2 separate regions of the Homo sapiens genome follow, and region 2 is linked to region 1. Evidence: promoter capture Hi-C in 16 types of primary human blood cells and fetal thymus (Javierre and others, 2016). All regions are on one chromosome and are shown on one strand. Each heading gives the region's core, a stretch centred on a gene start or on the middle of the fragment in contact. The rest is flanking DNA. Distances are from core to core; before and after follow the strand shown.

The links. Contacts are between HindIII fragments. The CHiCAGO score rates a contact against its expected background, and 5 or more counts as called.
Region 2: a fragment that was not itself captured here is called in contact with the fragment with the promoter of SNAI1 in region 1 in 17 of 17 cell types (endothelial precursors, naive B cells, activated CD4 T cells and 14 more); the score reaches 21.4 in endothelial precursors.

What each region holds. Positions count from the first base shown.
Region 1 is chr20:49,980,456-49,984,932 of GRCh38, forward strand. SNAI1 (snail family transcriptional repressor 1) reads left to right here and starts at 2,525. Exons shown (of 3, transcript NM_005985.4): 1 at 2,525-2,686; 2 at 3,369-3,896. The coding sequence starts at 2,605. RefSeq lists an enhancer at 930-1,867 and a silencer at 2,020-2,539. The HindIII fragment of the contact is 8,892 bases long and covers 1-4,477 here.
Region 2 is chr20:50,175,470-50,180,008 of GRCh38, forward strand. LINC01273 (long intergenic non-protein coding RNA 1273) reads left to right here. Exons shown (of 3, transcript NR_109943.1): 3 at 812-1,202. Among named protein-coding and RNA genes, the nearest start is that of LINC01273, 5.2 kb to the left of the region's middle. RefSeq lists an enhancer at 3,701-4,200. The HindIII fragment of the contact is 1,121 bases long and covers 2,351-3,471 here.

The DNA of each region.
Region 1 (4,477 bases), core at 1,275-3,774:
GGAGTTGTAGTTCATTTTTATTGCTGTATAGTATTCTATTACAGGATTGCACCAGGGTTCATTAATCCAGTCTACTGTTTATAAACATTTGTGTTGTATCCAGTTTTGTTTTAGTTTTTGCTTTTTTTGCTATTAGGAACGAGGGTACAATGAATATCCTTTTTTGTTTTTTCGGGGTTTGGGCTGGACAACAGTTCTTTACTTTGCTTGGTTGCTCATTATAATCCCCAGGGGAGTTTTTTAAAATGCTGATGCCAGAGGCCCCACCCAGACTAATTAAATCAAGATGTGGGTGGGGGTGGGGTGGGCCGAGGCTTAGGTGTTTTAATCCTTCCCTGTGGGGATCTAATGTGCTGCCAGAGCTGAGAACCCCTGGGATGCAGTTGGTTTGAGGACAGACTTGTCAGCTGCAGCCCCTGGGATGCAGTTGGCTTGAGGACAGACAGGGAGAGGAGTCACCTGTTGCTAGCTGATGCCAAACTTTTCCAAAGTGACTATGCCCACCGACCCTCTCGCCAGCTCTCACCTCCTCATCAACTCTTGATAGTGACCAAATTTTTCCTTGTTGTCCTTCTGATGGGCGTGAAATGGCAGCTCACTGTGGCTTGAATTTGCCATTTCTCTCTTCACTAAACGAGGCTGAGCAGTTAGTGAAGTTGCTGCTGAAACAAAGAATGAAAGGAAGCCAGCGTGAAGATCTAGGAGCAAGAGACGTAGGGGAGAGGAGGAAGAGCAGCAGGTGCCAAGGTGGGAAAGGTCTGGGATGTTGGAGGAACAGAAGGAAGGCTGGGGGTGGGATCCTTGTGCATGGGGGAGGGAGAGAGGCTCAAGCCAATGTCAGCTGGGGTCAGAGCAGCGGGGCCGAGTTGGCTGAGGAGAGGACTTTGGCTTTTACTCTGAGACAGGCGCATGGGAGGGTTTGAGCAGAGGAGGGGGTGATCTGGCCTCACTTTGGCTTCAAGCAAAGGATCCTGATTGGAGCTAAATTGACACGGGACGGGGAGTATTCCGCTTAATGACTGCTTACTGCCTCTGTCCCCCACCCTACTGCCCGCTCTCCAGCTAGAACCAGGGGAGGACGATTTTGTTCACGGCTGTCACACCCGGCACCAAGTGACTAAACAGACAGTAGTTCTGCCCTTCAGGTTGGTGGTGGTGGTGGTGTGGGGTGCTTATAGGTTTTTATAGTCTTCCTTCACAGGTGGAAACAAGAACGGTGAGACCTGTGAGGTTTATTTCAGAGCCACCCCCGGGCCTGGTACGCCTCCCAGGGAAGCTGGGGTGGGGGTGCAGCTGCCCCTCACTTGGGCCCACCCCACATGCATTCAGTCAGGGCCCCTATGGAGCCGTGTTACAGCCTTTAGACACAGGATCGAGGATCTTCACGGGGTGAGGAGACACGCCCGGCCCATGCCTTCTTTCTCCCGCCAGCCTACAGGGATCTTTTTCAACGAAACTCTAACCAGGTCCCTCCTCAGCTGAAAATCCTTCGGTGGCTCCCCAGTGCCCTTGAGGCAAAGTCCAAACTCCTACGAGGCCCTGGGGCCCAGCACATCTGACCCCTCCGGGCATGCCCATCCCACCCCATCCCTGGAAGCTGCTCTCTAGGAGTTACTCTGAAGCAGTTGCCACTTCTTCCCTCGGGCCTTTTCCCTTGATAATTCTTCACTTCCTCTGGGAAGTCACCCCGACCCCCTGTCAGGTGACCCGCCTCTTAACGGTCGCCGCGTCCCGTCTCTCCCCCACCAAAGCACACTTCCCTTTGCATTGTAATTATCTGTTTACTTCGTCTGTCTCCCTCACTGGACCAGAAGCTACCCTTCGGGAGAGGCTCTGAGTGTTCTGTCCGGGGCTGTGCCCTGGCCCCAGGTACAGTGCCCCACACGTGCTGGGCGCTCCGTAAACACTGGATAAGGGAAGGAACGGGTGCTCTTGGCTAGCTGGGCCAGGCTGCTTTGCAAAAAGGCCGTGGCATTTCAAGCCGCCGAGAGCCACGTGCGGTGTCCCTTTCCTCGCTTCCTCCCCAGTGATGTGCGTTTCCCTCGTCAATGCCACGCTCTCCAGGCGCCAGCCGGGCGGAGGAAATTTCCGCCCCCTCCCAAGCCCGAGGCGGGGGCGGGCGTCGGAAGGTCAGGTGTCCCGGCCGGCGCGCAGCGCCAGGGGGCGTCAGAAGCGCTCAGACCACCGGGCGCTGAGCCGGTGGGCGCGCGGCGTCCTGCCGGGGTCCCACCTCGCAGAGGCCTCGCTTCGCTCGACGTCCCGCCCCGGACAGCCCCAGCACCGGGGACGACCCGCGCTGCGCCAGCGAACCCCGCCTCGGAGGAGTCCCCGCCCGGGCTCTCACCGCCACGCGGCGCGAGCCCGGCCAGCAGCCGGCGCACCTGCTCGGGGAGTGGCCTTCGGCGGAGACGAGCCTCCGATTGGCGCGGAGGTGACAAAGGGGCGTGGCAGATAAGGCCCCGCCCCTCCCACCCCCCACCACCCCCCCGGAGTACTTAAGGGAGTTGGCGGCGCTGCTGCATTCATTGCGCCGCGGCACGGCCTAGCGAGTGGTTCTTCTGCGCTACTGCTGCGCGAATCGGCGACCCCAGTGCCTCGACCACTATGCCGCGCTCTTTCCTCGTCAGGAAGCCCTCCGACCCCAATCGGAAGCCTAACTACAGCGAGCTGCAGGACTCTAATCCAGGTGCGTTGGAGGGGTTCTGGGCTCCAGGAGGTTTGGGGGAGACAGGCGAAGGCTGCGTGGGGGGCACCTGAGGGAGGCGGCCTGCCTGAGCCAGGATCGAGTCACAGGATGTTTTGTGGACCATTGCGGGCTCGGGAGACCGGGCAAGTGGGTCCCCAGTTCCGGGGATCTGTCTGGGTGGTTGGGGGAGTGCCGTGTAGAGGGCAGGGGTCTTCAGCTTGGGGGGCCTTTGTAGCCGGCGAGAGGCGGAGGAGCTCCGCAAGAGGGGAAGGAGAGGAGGCCTGTGTCAGGAGGGCCCTCTGGACGCTGCTGGGGAGAGTCCGGAGTCCAGAGGGTTGAGGGGAGGGGTGGGGAGACGAGATGTGTGTGAGGAGGGGGATTGGGGCAGGGTGGTGGCTCCGGGGCTGGGATGATGGGGTTCTGGCCTCAGGCTGGAGACTGGGGACTTAGGAGAGGGAGATCAGGAAATGACCTCCTTCAACTGGGGGTCCTACGTGTGAGAGACTCAGATTGGGTGACCTGGGCGAGGAGGGCAGGAACCTGGTCTGTCCTGTGGATAATTTTTTTGATCTAATTATGTATTGAGAATCGGCCCCACCCAGCCCCTGGCCAGCGGTGGGCTCATGTTTGTTGATTGAGTGAATGATTTAATTAACGCCTGACTCTGCTTTTTCTCCCTCAGAGTTTACCTTCCAGCAGCCCTACGACCAGGCCCACCTGCTGGCAGCCATCCCACCTCCGGAGATCCTCAACCCCACCGCCTCGCTGCCAATGCTCATCTGGGACTCTGTCCTGGCGCCCCAAGCCCAGCCAATTGCCTGGGCCTCCCTTCGGCTCCAGGAGAGTCCCAGGGTGGCAGAGCTGACCTCCCTGTCAGATGAGGACAGTGGGAAAGGCTCCCAGCCCCCCAGCCCACCCTCACCGGCTCCTTCGTCCTTCTCCTCTACTTCAGTCTCTTCCTTGGAGGCCGAGGCCTATGCTGCCTTCCCAGGCTTGGGCCAAGTGCCCAAGCAGCTGGCCCAGCTCTCTGAGGCCAAGGATCTCCAGGCTCGAAAGGCCTTCAACTGCAAATACTGCAACAAGGAATACCTCAGCCTGGGTGCCCTCAAGATGCACATCCGAAGCCACACGCTGCCCTGCGTCTGCGGAACCTGCGGGAAGGCCTTCTCTAGGCCCTGGCTGCTACAAGGCCATGTCCGGACCCACACTGGTACGTGCCCCTCCAGGCGCCCCCACCGTTGCTCTCTCTGGCAGCTTTTGTGAATCTGGGCTTGCTGTTCTCATTCCCAAAGCTGTGGACACTGAGGCCCCGAGTCTTCTAACTTCTAGCTCAAGTTCCAGGGCCTGGCTCTCTGGAAACGTTTGGCAGAAACTTTCTTCATCAGCTAAGCAGATGGGCAAAGCAGACACCTTCCCAATCCCCTGCAGCCTGTTTCTCAGCCAAATGGGTCGGAGCTGGATATGGGAAAGGTGCAACCAACACCTTGCTGTGGGGGCCAGGTGTGAAGGGGCCCACCCGGCCACACCCTCTCCCGGGTCCGCCCCCTCCCTAGCCAGACAGGATGTTGTCAGACCCCCCGCCTGGCTCTGAATCCTTCTTTGAGAACTTTCTCAAAACTTAGGCTGATGTTTCTCTTCTGTGAGCCTCATTTTCTCTATCTTTCAGATGGGCATGAGAACAGCTTTTGGGGTTTCTATACAGGCTAAATGCAGGAATGCATATGGGAAGCACCTGGCAAAGTGCCGGTACCTGCTAAACTCTCACAAAAATGGTTCCTTGGCATTTGCTCT
Region 2 (4,539 bases), core at 1,661-4,160, 200 kb after region 1:
GAGAGAGAGAGAAAGAAGGAGAATATGATACATCAAATGTAGTAAAATGAAAACATTTGGGAAATATTTGAAGTATTTGTAACTTTTCTCTAAGTCTGAAAGTATTTCAAAATTAAAAAAAAATTTAAAAGGTGAATAGTGCCAGGTGTGTTGGTGCACGCCTGAAATCCCAGCACTTTGGGAGGCCAAGGCAGGTAGATCACCTGAGGTCAGGAGTTCGAGACCAGCCTGGCCAACATGGAGAAACTCCGTGTCTACTAAAAATACAAAAATTAGCCAGGCATGGTGGTGGGCACTTGTAGTCCCAGCTACTCGGGAGGCTGAGGCACGAGAATTGCTTGAATCTAGGAGGTGGAGGTTGCAGTGAGCTGAGATTGCACCACTGCACTCCAGCCTGGGCGACAGAGCAAGACTCTGTCTCAAAAAAAAAAAAAAAAAAAAATGGTGAATAGTACCAAGCGGTGGTGGAAGATATGGGATATAAAACCCTTGGGCACAGCTGGTGTGAGTGGAGACGGGACAGCCTTTCTGTAGAGCACCTGGTACTTAGTCAAATTAGTCCCCCCATCCCCTACAACCTACTCTCAAGCCAAAGTCCCAGAGACATCCTCACACCAGCCCTAGAGGGTGCAAGGAGGTGGCAGCTCACCTTATCTGTGGTGGGGCAGGTTGGGGGTCACTTGGGTGTCTACCCCAGGGACTGGGCGGCTGAGACTGGGGACTGCTCATAGAAAGGACCGTGGATGAGCCACAGCTACAAAACCCTTCACACAAGTGTTCATGCCACAAAGTAGCCACATGTGTTTTGCAGGGACACATTCCAGCAAAAAGACACAAAGTGACAGAATGGCTGCCTTTGAGTGGGGGTGAGAAGAGGTGGATGGCAGGTACCAGAAGAGAAGGGAATAAATATATGAAGAAATACAACCCCCTCGGGCAGTGCCTGGCACAGCATAAATGCCCAGGAAAAAGAGGCCCAGTTGCTTACGTTCCCGGCGACAGGGCCGGGACCAGCGCCGGCTTCCTGGTGAAGGAGGCCACCCTTTCCTCTTGAGGGGTCTGAGTATGCATGTCAGCACCCGGTGGGCACCCAGCACCCAGCTGACCAGGGGCCTTCACCTCTGTGGGGGTTACCGGCCTGGCCCTGAGAACTGGATGAAAGCTGGAATAATTCTTTCTGTAATAAAGCAAACGCAACCACGTTCAACCTTTCCCTTCATTTCAGAGGCTTCCCGCACCTGATGCCTCCCACAGCCTCAGGCTGAGTCCCCAGGTGCTCCAGTGGGGGTGGCAAAGCTGAGCACTGAGTTGGTTTCCATAGTTTTCATCATTAAAATGTTTAAATGACTAGGCCGAGCACAGTGGCTTCTCAGCATTTTGGGAAGCCGAGGTAGGCAGATCGCTTGAGCCCATGAGTTTGAGACCAGCCTGGGAAACATGGCAAAATCCTGTCTCTACAAAATGCAAAAAAATTAGCCAGGTGTGGTGGTGTGTGCCTGTAGTCCCAGCTACTTGGGAGGCTGAAATGTGAGGATTGCTTGAGCCTGGGGAGGCTGAGATTGCAGTGAGCCGTGATTGTGCCACTGCACTCTAGCCTGGGTGACAGAGTGGCAGACCCTGTCTCCAAAAAAAAAAAAAAAAAAATTAGCCTGGCATGGTGGTGCGTGCCTGTGGTCCCAGCTACTTGGGAGGCAGAGGAGGGAAGGGCACCTGAGTCTGGGGGTGTTGAGGCTGCAGTGAGCTGTGATGGTGCCGACGTACTTGAGCCTGGGCTACAGAGATCTTATCTAAAGAAAAGCCTAAATGAATGTGTGGTGAGGAGCAGGCTTGAGTTATTTTCATGATGAGCTCCTCAGGATAGATTCTCAAAAGTGGCATTGGTGGGGCTCTACCTCTGTTTATTCATTAATCTGTTTTATTTTTATATTTATTTATTTATTTCAGTTATTTTTTTGAGATGGAGTTTCACTCTGTCACCCAGGCTGGAGTGCAGTGGCACGATCTCGGTTCACTGCAACATCCCTCTCCCAGGTTCAAGCAATTCTCCTACCTCAGCCTCACAAGTAACTGGGATTACAGGCGTGCGCCACCACATTCAGCTAATTTTTAGTAGAGACGCAGTTTCACCATGTTGGCCAGGCTGGTCTTGAACTCCTGACCTCAAGTGATCCACCCGCCTTGGCCTCCCAAAGTGCTGGGATTACAGGTGGCAGTCACCATGGCTGGCTTGTTTTATTTTTAACATTTAATTGGGTAAGCTGCAGATACCCCTCAAGATGTCAGTGTGCATGTCAAGATGTCAGTGTGCACGTCATTAACTAGAGTCAAATATTTGTTTCTCTGTCTGTAAAGCTTACATTTGGTGAACTGCACCTTTAGGTGTACTTTTGATTATTATTATTATTTTTTTGAGATGGAGTTTTGCTCTGTCACCAAGGCTGAGTCTAGTGTTGCGATCTCTGCTCACTGCAACCTCTGCCTCCAGGGTTCAAGTGATTCTTCTGCCTCAGCCTCCTGAGCAGTTGGGATTACAGGCGCCTGCCACTGCACCAGGCTAATTTTTGTATTTTTAGTAGAGATGGGGTTTCACCATGTTGGCCAGGCTGGTCTTGAGCTCCTGACCTCAAGTGATTCACCCGCCCCAGCCTCCCAAAGTGCTGGGATTACAGGGGTGAGCCACTGCGCCCAGCCACTTTTGATTACTTTTGACAAATGCATCCACCTGCACTGCCCAAACTCCCTCCAAGATGTTAAACATGCAGTGGGTTGAATTGTGTCCCCCAAGAAGATATGTTCAAGTCCTAACCCCTGGGACCTGTGAATGTGACCTTATTTGGAAATAGGGGCTTGCAGATGAACCCAACTTAAGATGAGATCATTCTGGATTGTGGGGGCTCTAAATCCAATGACTGGTGTTTATATAAGAGAAAGGAGAGGGAGATTTGGAGGTGAACACACAGAGGGAAGAAGGCACTGGAAGAAGGCCGTTGGAAGATTAAGGCAGAGATTGGGGTGAGGCAGCTAGAGCCAAGGAACATGGTGGATGGCGGGCAAGCACCATGGAAGAGGCAAGGAGGGATTCTTCCCCAGAGCCTCCAGAGGGAGCAGGACCCTGGTTTCAGGGGAGAATAAATTTCTGTTGTTTTGGGTTTGTGGTATCTTATCATGGCGGCCTTAGGAAACTCACACGAAACACACACCATCACCCCAGCGAGCACCCTTGTCCCCTCCTCAGTTGTGCTCTCCCCCAACTGGCAACCACCGTGCTGATATTTTCCTCATGGGTGAGTTCTGCCTGTTCTAGAGCTCTAAACAGATGGGATCACACAGGAAGTTCTTGGCATCTGGCATCTTTCACTCAAACAAGATTTCAGAGATTGTTGCAGCTATCAGTGCTGGCACGCCTATAATTAAAGTCCATTTACTTGAAGAGGAAGTAAATTTTGAATTTGAGGAGGGGAGTAGGCAGTAAGCTTTCTTTTTTTTTTTTTTTTTGAGACCGAGTTTCACTCTTTTTGCCCAGGCTGGAGTGCAATGGTGCGATCTCGGCTCACCGCAACCTCTGCCTCCCGGGTTCAAGCGATTCTCCTGCCTCAGCCTCCCAAGTAGCTGGGATTATAGGCATGCACCACCACACCGGGCTAATTTTTGTATTTTTAATATTTTTGTATTTTGTATTTTTAGTAGAGACGGGGGTTTCACCATGTTGGTCAGGCTGGTCTCGAACTCCTGACCTCAGGTGATCTGCCCGCCTGGGCCTCCCAAAATGCTGGGATTACAGGCGTGAGCCACCGCGCCTGGCCTGTAAGCTTTCTCTTTAAAGCTGGGCTTGAGGCCCCCTCTCCCGGGGGTCTCTGGCCCTCAGGAACCCCAGTCTGAAGCTGTTTCCCAGTTCAGAGGTTGCAGAGATCGGAGGCGGGGCTCCCGCGCCACCTTGTGGCCATTCTAGGCAGCGCAACCCATGATGCCTGTGGCGGGGCGTGGGGGTGGGGTGGGGTGGGTTGGGGAAGGTGGGTTGGGCAAATGTGTATTTTCCTGGTTTGGGCCCTCAAGTCACTGAGCACCTACTCAGCACCTGCATGATTCCACTGTATGTGTGTGTGGACAGAGATGACCAAGATTGCGCAGACCCTAGAGGGGTTCCCAGGAGAGGGAGACTACACAACACTAACTCCAGTAGGGTGGATGGAGTGAGGCCCAGAGGCCTGAAGTCCAGCTGGAGCCTGGAGGAGGGGAGAGTAACGGACTTGGGCATTCAGGGAACGTTTCCCTGGGCATTTCGACAGCTGGGGATGGAAAGGAAGACTGTTACAGGCAGGGGAACAGCACAACCAAGGTGTGGAAGCAGGACCGGGCAACATTCTGGACCCAACCAATCATAAGGTCATACGTGTCCATGGCAAACATTTTTTTTTTTTCTTTTTAGAGACAAGGTCTTGCTCCATCACCCAGGCTGGAGTGCAGTGACACAGTCATGGCTCACTGCAGCCTTGACCTCTCGGGCCCAAGAGATCCTCCTGCCTCAATCTCCTGAATGTC